Linked DNA regions of Homo sapiens: region 2 is linked to region 1. The links are contacts of gene promoters, found by promoter capture Hi-C in blood cells and fetal thymus (Javierre and others, 2016). All regions are on one chromosome and are shown on one strand. The core of a region is centred on a gene start or on the middle of the fragment in contact, and the rest is flanking DNA. Distances in the headings are between cores, read along the strand shown.

Region 1 (4,265 bases), core at 1,266-3,765:
GTGCTGGGGTTACAGGCATGAGCCACTGCGCCCACCCTGCCATTCTTATTCTCAGTCTTATTCTCTCTGTCCCAGCCCCATCAGTCATCAATTGCTCAATAAATATGGATTAGGCACCTGCTATGGGCTATGTGTTGGCCCCCGATAATACAAAGATGAAAAAGACAAGCCCTGACCGAGGGTCATGTGCAGCATGTAACCTGTATGGACAGCTACCCACGCAGCCTTGGCCTAAGGCTGGCAGGGGCGAGGCCGGGGCTGGCACAGAGGAGCTCGAACAGGTGGAGTCTTAAAAAGCAGGAAAGGGTCTGTCAGGCGGAGGCGGAGCGGGGGTGTTCAAGGCCCAGGGTTGAGGCATGCAGCCGATGCTGTGTGGCAGGGCAAGCACTTGCTGCTGAGTCTCCTGGAAGGGGAAAGGGTGGTGAGAGGGGCGGCCTGCAAGTCTGTGCAGGCCCCTTTGCAGCTGCTAAGGGGGCCCAGACCTCATCCTGCAGGACAGGCGTGAAGCTGGGAGGGCCACTGTGGGTTTGCCCGGTAAGTCAGTCCCTCCAGCTGCTGTAGGAGGGGTGGACAGGGGAGCCCAAATGAAGGCAGGGAGACCCCAGGGCAGGGCACAGAAGTAATGCTGGTGAGAGGAGATGGGGTTGCAGCCGGGACAGAGGAAGCAGGCTGGACAAGAGTGGGTGGTTTAAAACATTGGGAGGTAAAAGCAACAGGATGGGAGAGGGGGGTGGGACGAGGAGGGAGCAGAACTGCCTGGTTTTCAACACCTTGCTAAGTCCAGGAGGCAGTTGGAGAGAGGGCTGGGTGGGGGCAGGCAGTTCCTAGGGTGCCACGACACCAGCAGCACCTAAGATCTCCACTCATGCTCACTCAGTCCACACGACACGAGGGCCCAGCACACATCAGGCACCCAGAACAAGAACAGGTGGCTGCCCTCCAAGAGCTGATTTGCATGGGAGTGTGGGAGCGGGGGATAATTAATAATAAATATAATAAGGAAATCATATAGAAAGTGGAAATGGGAAGTGTTGGGGGGGCAGAATGCTGCAGATATCCTAAGGAGATGTGCCAGAGCCAGCCCAATGCCCATCCTTCCCTTGGCTACAGGCGGCACTTGTGACTTGAATCTGAGTAGAACTGGGCCGAGGGGGTGGCATGTCACCCACAATTAGGTTCTGTTCCACAGGACTCCATCTGGGGGTGGGGCTCTCCCACGGACCCTGGGGAAGCGGCCACCCTGTGAACCGCCCACCCTCCCACAGTAGGGACTGGCAGGCAGCCCCCGGGAGCTGAGAGCAGCTCCTGCCGGCCCTCAGTCCTACAGGCACCAGGACATGACTTCTGCCAGCAATCGCATGAGGTGGGAAGTGATCCTTCCCCAGTCCAGCCCCCAGATGAGAACACAGCGGCTGACCAGAGCTGAGGACCCAGCTAAGCCTGGCCTTCTGGCCCACAGAAGCCTTGAGATAATAGGCGGATGTCGTTTTAGGACACCCAATTTGCGGTACGTAGGGAACTAACACGCGGGGCTCTGGCGGGCCTGGCGGCTCAGTGCGATCTGGGCAGGCAGGAAGTGGAGTGAGCACAGCCAGCGGCTGGGAGCACATCCCGGAGGGGCTGCCTGCGGCGGGAGGAGCGGCAGGGGCCACGTGGTGGGGGACGGCTCGCCAGGGCGCGCACGCGGTGGCGGCGGCGGTGGAGGCGTTGCCCGCCTAGCTAGGGGCCCGCGGCCTGGAGAGGCGTCGGTTCTCCTTCCGCGCTGAAGGCGGAGACAGCGACTTCCCGTGGAGGCAAGCCGTGGGCGCCGCGGAGGCGGGGGCTGGGGGTCGGCGGAGGCGGGAGCTGGGGGTCGGCGGGGGCTGGGGGTTGGCGGGGAGCGTCCTCAGGGACAAGTCTCCCAGCACGCGGCCGCGACCTCCCCGTTGGGGGTCTGGAGCCAGGAGCCCACGCGCGTCGGATCCGGAGAGTCTGGTGGGCGCAGCCTACGTGACAGGGTCGGCTCGGGACCGAGCTGCTGGGGACTGGGCCTTGCGGGGCGGGGCCGCTGGGGGCGGGGCATGAGGGTGCCGGTTCGGGGCGGGGCTTTTTGGGGGCGGGACATGGGGCGGAGCCTGGGGGCGGAGCATGTGGGGAGGTGGCTGGGGAGGAACTTTCGGGGGCGGGACACGAGGGCGGAGCCTGAGGGGGCGGGGCATGAGGGGAAGCCGGCTCGGGAAGGAGCTTTCGGAGGCGGGGCCCGCTCGGGGAGGGACCTGATTTCGGGGGAGCCTTCGGGAGGGCGCCTGCCATAGACGACTGTAAAGGGGCGGGGTCAGCTCGGGGAGGACCCTGCGGGCGTGGCGGCAGTTATGGGTGAAGCCTGAGGGGGCGGGGCCTGATCGGGGCGGGGTCTTCGGGGGCGGAGTCGGCTGGGGATGGAGCCGCTCGGGCCGAGCCCTCCACCGCCCACCATCACCGAGTCCGGCCCAGGCTCCTAGCGCGGCCGCCGGAAGGGGCGGGTCAGCGGGCGGGCATTTCCTGCCGGTGCCTAGGGCCGACGGGGACGCTGGCACTGGTGGGGAGCTGTTGGGGGGTCCCGCATCTAGGGCTCTCCTTTCCTGCCTCCGGCCCCCGCGAGGGGCGCGCGCCTCTCCCCGCCCTCCAGCAGTCCTGGTAGGGCCCGGGCGCGTCCGCGCTCTGCAGCGGGAGGTCCTCGTCGCCTCTCGTCTCCAGCCAGGTACTCACTGGGCTCCTGCCTGCCGCCTCCGGCCCAGGACGCGCAGCGTCGGTATGGGCCCCGCCGCCTCCCCGCACCCCGGCGCTCCAGGGATGTGGCAAGACCCGGCTTTGAGCACCTCCCGGGCGCCGGCCCCGAGGCCGACCTAGCTCTGCACGTGGGCCGCGGGGCTCTGCCGTTGAAAGGAGAGCCTCTAACTAGGAGCACGCACGGGACCCTGGCGGGCCCCTCCGCCTGGCTCAGATGCCTGGCATCTCAGGCCTTGGCACAGCTAGCAGGCCCCTGGCAGGCCGTGGACCCAGCAGGCTGTTTTAGTGCAGATTGCCCCTGAATCTCAAGCCCACTAATGTTCCAGTCTCTCCATGAGACCCAGATCCCTGAAAGTAGTGGAGGGAGGCGCCAGGGTGAGTGAGGTTTTCTAGGCAGCCCTTACCGCCCACGGATACCCAGAGCTTCATATTACAAGTGAAGGGTCCTCCGCCCAGAGAGGCGACGGAGCTACGCTGGAGTTGCACGACAGAACCAGAACCCCAGTCTTTAGGGGTGTGGCAAGCGTGGGTTGCGCTGTTTGTAACTAGCTAATCACTCCTGTCTACAGGCCTGTGAGGTGAGGCCAAGAAAATCGCTATGGTCCAATCCGTTTTTGTTTTTTGCGTGTGGGGTTTTTTGTTTTGGTTTGGTTTGGTTTTTTTGTTTGAGACGGAGTCTTGTTCTGTCGCCAGGCAGGAGTGCACTGGCGCGACCTTTGCTCACTGCAACTTCTATCTCCTGGGTTCAGGCAATTCCCCTCCCTCAGCCTCCTGAGTAGCTAGGACTACAGGCACGTGCCACCACGCCCAGCTAATTTTTTGTGTTTTGGTAGGGACAGGGTTTCACCATGTTGGCCAGGATGGTCTCGATCTCCTGACCTCGTGATCCGCCCACCTCGGCCTCCCAAAGTGCTGGGATTACAGGCATGAGCCACCGCGCCCGGCCAGTCCACTCTGCTTTTAAGAAATATTTTATTTCTCAGGGTGGGCAGCGTGTAGAGAAGTGAGTCATTCCAGTCTCTGCCGGTTAGCACCTGCCAGCCTAAGTTGAGTCGACAGAGCCGTTATGGAGAATGTTCCCTGACCACAGTATGTGACTAGGATTTGGAGATAAAAAAGATACGATCCTCGCCTTCAGGAGACCCTGTCGCATAAGGAGACTGCCATGTCAGTGACCAGCCACACGTGCAGTGACAAGTGTCTGGAAGAAGGAACAGTGCTGTACAGCATGGAGGACCCCCACACAGGCCTCGGGCAGCAGCCGTTAGGCTCAGTGGGTTCACAAACCACCCCCCGCCCCGCCGTGGAGTGGAGTCTGCAGAGAGCCAGATAGGTTCCCGCCATGCCCTGGAGAGCTGCCGTTTCTCCAGCTCCGCCCTGCCCATGAGGCAAACAGCTGGTCGACTGGTCTTCTGTGCTGGTTCTTGGTTCTCACCTTTGTTTCCTACCAGAGCTGGACCCCGGCCTCAAACTCCAGCCAGCTTGGGCTGTGATCCTCTATCCTGGGCACCAGGGCC
Region 2 (4,265 bases), core at 529-3,028, 130 kb before region 1:
TTCGATAGTGTTGTATTAAGACCTTTGTGAATAACCCCCCATTATTCATTCCATTGCTTAACAACCATGTACAGATTCCACCCCGCTAGGATGCACCCCATGACTCTCTCCTTTCCTTTTTCCTCTTGGTTTCACCCCATCCACTTTTTACCTTTTTTTTGAGATGGAGTCTTACTCTGCCACCCAGGCTGGAGTGCAGTGGCAGTCTTGACTCACTGCAATTCTCCTCCCTCAGTCTCCTGAGTAGCTGGGATTACAGGTGCGCGCCACCACACCTGGCTAATTTTTGTATTTTTAGTAGAGATGAGGTTTCGCCATGTTGGCCAGGCCAGTCTCGAACTCCTGATCTCAGGTGGTCTGCCCACCTCTGCCCCTCAAAGTGCTGAGATTACAGGCGTGAGCCACCAGGCCTGGCCCATTTTTTACCTATTTAAAACTAATCGTTTAAAAATTTTCCCCTTCCTAGGATGAGTCCTTGGACTCCCTTTTGCCTTTCCCAATAATTTTATTAATTAGCCTAAAGTTTTTATAAGCATCTGGATGACCCATGAGGGGAAGTTGAGACCCAATGAGGTGCCCAGGCCAATGGGCCCCCTTAACCACAGCATTTACCATGATCTGGGCATACTCAGCCGTGAATATCCCGGTCATCATAAAGTCAGTCCCACATGGCTTGCTTACGAAGCACATCAGCTGCTTCATCGGGGGTGCTCCACTTGGCGTTTATGGGGAAAGTTGGGTGGTCCCCTTCTCTTACAGTGCCTTTTATCCAGCCCACCAGGCTGGCCGTTCCCTCAGGAATAATCTGTGCGTCTGGATCACACACACTCATCTGCCATTGTTCAGCAGTGAGCTGTGGGTCTCACATCAGCCCACACGTGCTCTTCCATTCTGCTGCACTTGTGACCAGCAGAAGGGTGAGGCTGCTCACCACTTGTAGAAAGAAGCCAAAATAATAATGAGGTGTGATAGAAAGAGAGTGAGACTTTATTATCCGTACCAGCAAAGGGATGAGCACAAAGCAATTCCACTCTTCCATTTGTGGAGGGAACGCAGGGGATTTTAAAGAGAGGGTTTGGAATGCAGAAGAGGCAGGTGATGAGGAGGTGTCGGGTGGCAGGAACCAGTCCCATGGCTCATCTCGAATTATTGTTCCATCTGGTGAAGGGGCCAGGGCCATCGTGGCTGGAAGTGTCTGGTCCATAGCAGGATCCGGCCCCTGAAACTTCTAAGGAAATACATCACCAGAGAAGTGAGCATGGTGTGAGCTTAACAAGCATCCAGGTAAATAAGTGTGTGTAAGGTGTGACAGCATGGAATAGAAAAAGAAGGGGAGGGGAGGCCACAGCACATTCCCAGGCTATGTTTCAAGATGAAAGGAAACCCGTATGCAGCTTGACTCAAAGTTATATCTTGAGATTGGGAAGAAAGGAGAAAAAACAAAGTTTTAAAACATGGTTTGAAGCCAAGCTGCTCAGTTACACATTTAAAACCAAAAACACTGTTCCCAAATTAGTCATTCTCATAATTTATTTTGGTAGAAGTTCCTCAGGAAGCGAATCTACAAAACGAAGCAATTGCCCCACATCACGTCCTCTGGCTTCAGTGCTACTTGATTTTGCCCTTACTACCATCTTGGTAACCACAGGTCTCAGGGTGCTTTCTTTCATCCCTGGCATCATTTCCCCTTTGTGGGTAGTTTTGAGGCTAATGGCCTGAGCTCAGACAGACCCACAACTGAGCATGGTCCAGGCCCAACCCAGCACTCTCTTACACTTTCATTTTAGCTACTGCAGATAGCAGTAACCAAGGGATTGAATGTTTTGCTTTTTGCTTATTAGTCTGCATCTTCTTATGCATCCACTGAACCAACTCCCCAAGGGTTTGTGCCATCTCTAATTCTACCAGTAGCTTTCCCCTTTAGCAGCTGAGGATGGCACAGCTGCAGCTCCAGACCAGGGATGACGTGTGGCCGCTAAGGAATCAAGGGCTTCTTGTTGCCCAGCCCTTTATTCTTCCTCTTTCTATCCATTTACTCTCATCCATGTCATCTTTCCTTGATTCCAAAACAACCTGTAAATAGCTTCCAAACTAGACAAGAGTACTTTTCCTTTAAGCAGAAACCATATCTTTATGATTTTTATAACCTTTGCTAAAAACACATCTTACATTATGGCCGGGCGCAGTGGCTCACGCCTACAATCCCAGCACTTTGGGAGGCGAGACGGGCACATAACTCAAGGTCAAGAGTTTGAGACCAGCCTGGCCAACGTGGTGAAACCCATCTCTACTAAAATATAAAAATTAGCCGGGTGTGGTGGCGGGCGACTGTAATCCCAGCTACTCAGGAGGCTGAGGCAGGAGAATCACTTGAACCCGGGAGACAGAGGTTGCAGTGAGCCAAGATCGTGCCATTGCACTCCAGCCTGGGGGAGAGAACGAGACTCAGTCTCAAAAAAAAAAAAGAAAAGGAAAAAAGAAAAACCCACATCTTACTTTTCATACACTCTGTATGTAGAATAGTTTTGCCTATATCTAGCAGTTTTAATTACATATATAAACTATTACTGTAACTTAGTAACCCCTTATTTCTAGAAAATCCTAGTCTTAATTTAGCATGACTTTTAGATTTTATAAAGAGAATTTTGAAACTAGTTTTACTTACCAAAGATTACCAAAGTCACATGAACTAAAAGGCATTTGAGCTAGCTTCTATTATCCTGATAAGATATTTAAGTGTTTAAATTTCCTTTAAGCCCATTAGAGTTCTTTCATACAATCTGGTAGTGACCGGTCACATACGCATGACCCATGTAAACATATATGAGATAGAATAGGAGCGGGACGTGGCTCCTCCTTCACGATCTCACCATGCCTTCTACCTAACCCTGTTCCCATTGAGAAAAAAGAAGGTGCCAGCGCTCATTTAATTTTACATAAACACGCTCTTTGAGGGTGAAGCAAATCTGACTGCTTTTCAATGTGAAAATAAAATATAAAAACTGTTGTTGGAGTTATTTCTAAACAGAACATCAGAGTCATCTGAAGCATCAGAATCATCTATTTCTGAAAAATCAGATTCATCAAATGATCTTCAGCCAACAACTGTTCGAAAACGGTGCTCATGTCACAGAAACGCTACATTTTCTAAGATTTGACATTTTCAGTGGTTGCTAATTACTATATGTTGTAACTGGAAATGCCACTACTGCAAACAGAATGTATAAATAGAATAATGTCTTTTGTTGCCAAAGTCAATCTACTAGAGCAATGCAAAAATAGTTATAAAAGTGAGATATTTCGTGGCAAAGTTTTCTCGAAGTAAATGCTGCAGCCACAAGTGCCACCGGCAAGTATTCTTGGGGCAAACAGGAAATGGGTTAAAGAAGTTCAGGATCCGGCCTTAGGAAATCCAAATATCACACCGAGGTTGCGGTCTGATCTCATTTATTCAGCCTGAATAGATTTCTTTAGCATTTCTCATAGCGCGTATGTGCTGATAATAAATTCTTGTGGTTTTATTTTATTTAAAAATGTATTTACTGCCGGGCTCAGTGGCTCACACCTGTAATCCCAGCACTTTGGGAGGCCAAGGCAGGTGGATCACCTGAGGTCAGAAGTTCAAGACCAGCCTGGCCAACATGGTGAAACCTCGTTTCTACTAAAAATACAAAAATTAGCCGAGTGTGGTGGCGGGTGCCTGTAATCCCAGCTACTCTGGAGGCTGAGGCAGGAGAATCGCTAGAACCATTAGGAGGCGGAGCTTGCAGGGAGCCGAGATCTCACCACTGCACTCCAGCCTGGGTGACAGAGCGAGACTCCGTCTCAAACAAACAAACAAACAATAGTATTTACTTCACCTTCCTTCTTGAATAATATTTTCACTGGATATAGAATACTGGGTAGATCCTTATTTTTCCTTCAGCACTTTAGAGACATTGTTCCACTGTCTTCTGGCCCCATTCATTTCTTTCTTTTTTTTCTTTTTTCTTTTTTTTTTTAGACAGAGTTTCACTCTTGTTGCCCAGGCTGGAGTGCAATGGCGCAATCTCAGCTCACCGCAACCTCTGCCTCCCGGGTTCAAGCGATTCTCCTGCTTCAGCCTCCCGAGTAGCTGGGATTACAGGCATGCGCCACCACGCCCAGCTAATTTTGTATTTTTGGTAGAGACAGGGTTTCTCCATGTTGGTTAGGCTGGTCTCAAACTCCCGACCTCAGGTGATCTGCCAGCCTCAGCCTCCCAAAGTGCTGGGATTACAGGCGTG

The links. The method cuts DNA at HindIII sites, captures the fragments that hold promoters and counts their contacts. A CHiCAGO score of 5 or more calls a contact.
Region 2: a fragment that was not itself captured here is called in contact with the fragment with the promoter of ZFP41 in region 1 in 2 of 17 cell types (endothelial precursors and non-activated CD4 T cells); the score reaches 5.8 in endothelial precursors.

Annotation. Positions count from the first base shown.
Region 1 is chr8:143,244,424-143,248,688 of GRCh38, forward strand. It overlaps ZFP41 (ZFP41 zinc finger protein), which reads left to right and starts at 2,516. Exons shown (of 3, transcript NM_173832.6): 1 at 2,516-2,719. RefSeq lists silencers at 1,611-1,770, 1,971-2,860, 2,901-2,950. The HindIII fragment of the contact is 20,601 bases long and covers 1-4,265 here.
Region 2 is chr8:143,111,224-143,115,488 of GRCh38, forward strand. No RefSeq gene overlaps it. Among named protein-coding and RNA genes, the nearest start is that of LY6L, 33 kb to the left of the region's middle. The HindIII fragment of the contact is 6,125 bases long and covers 1-4,265 here.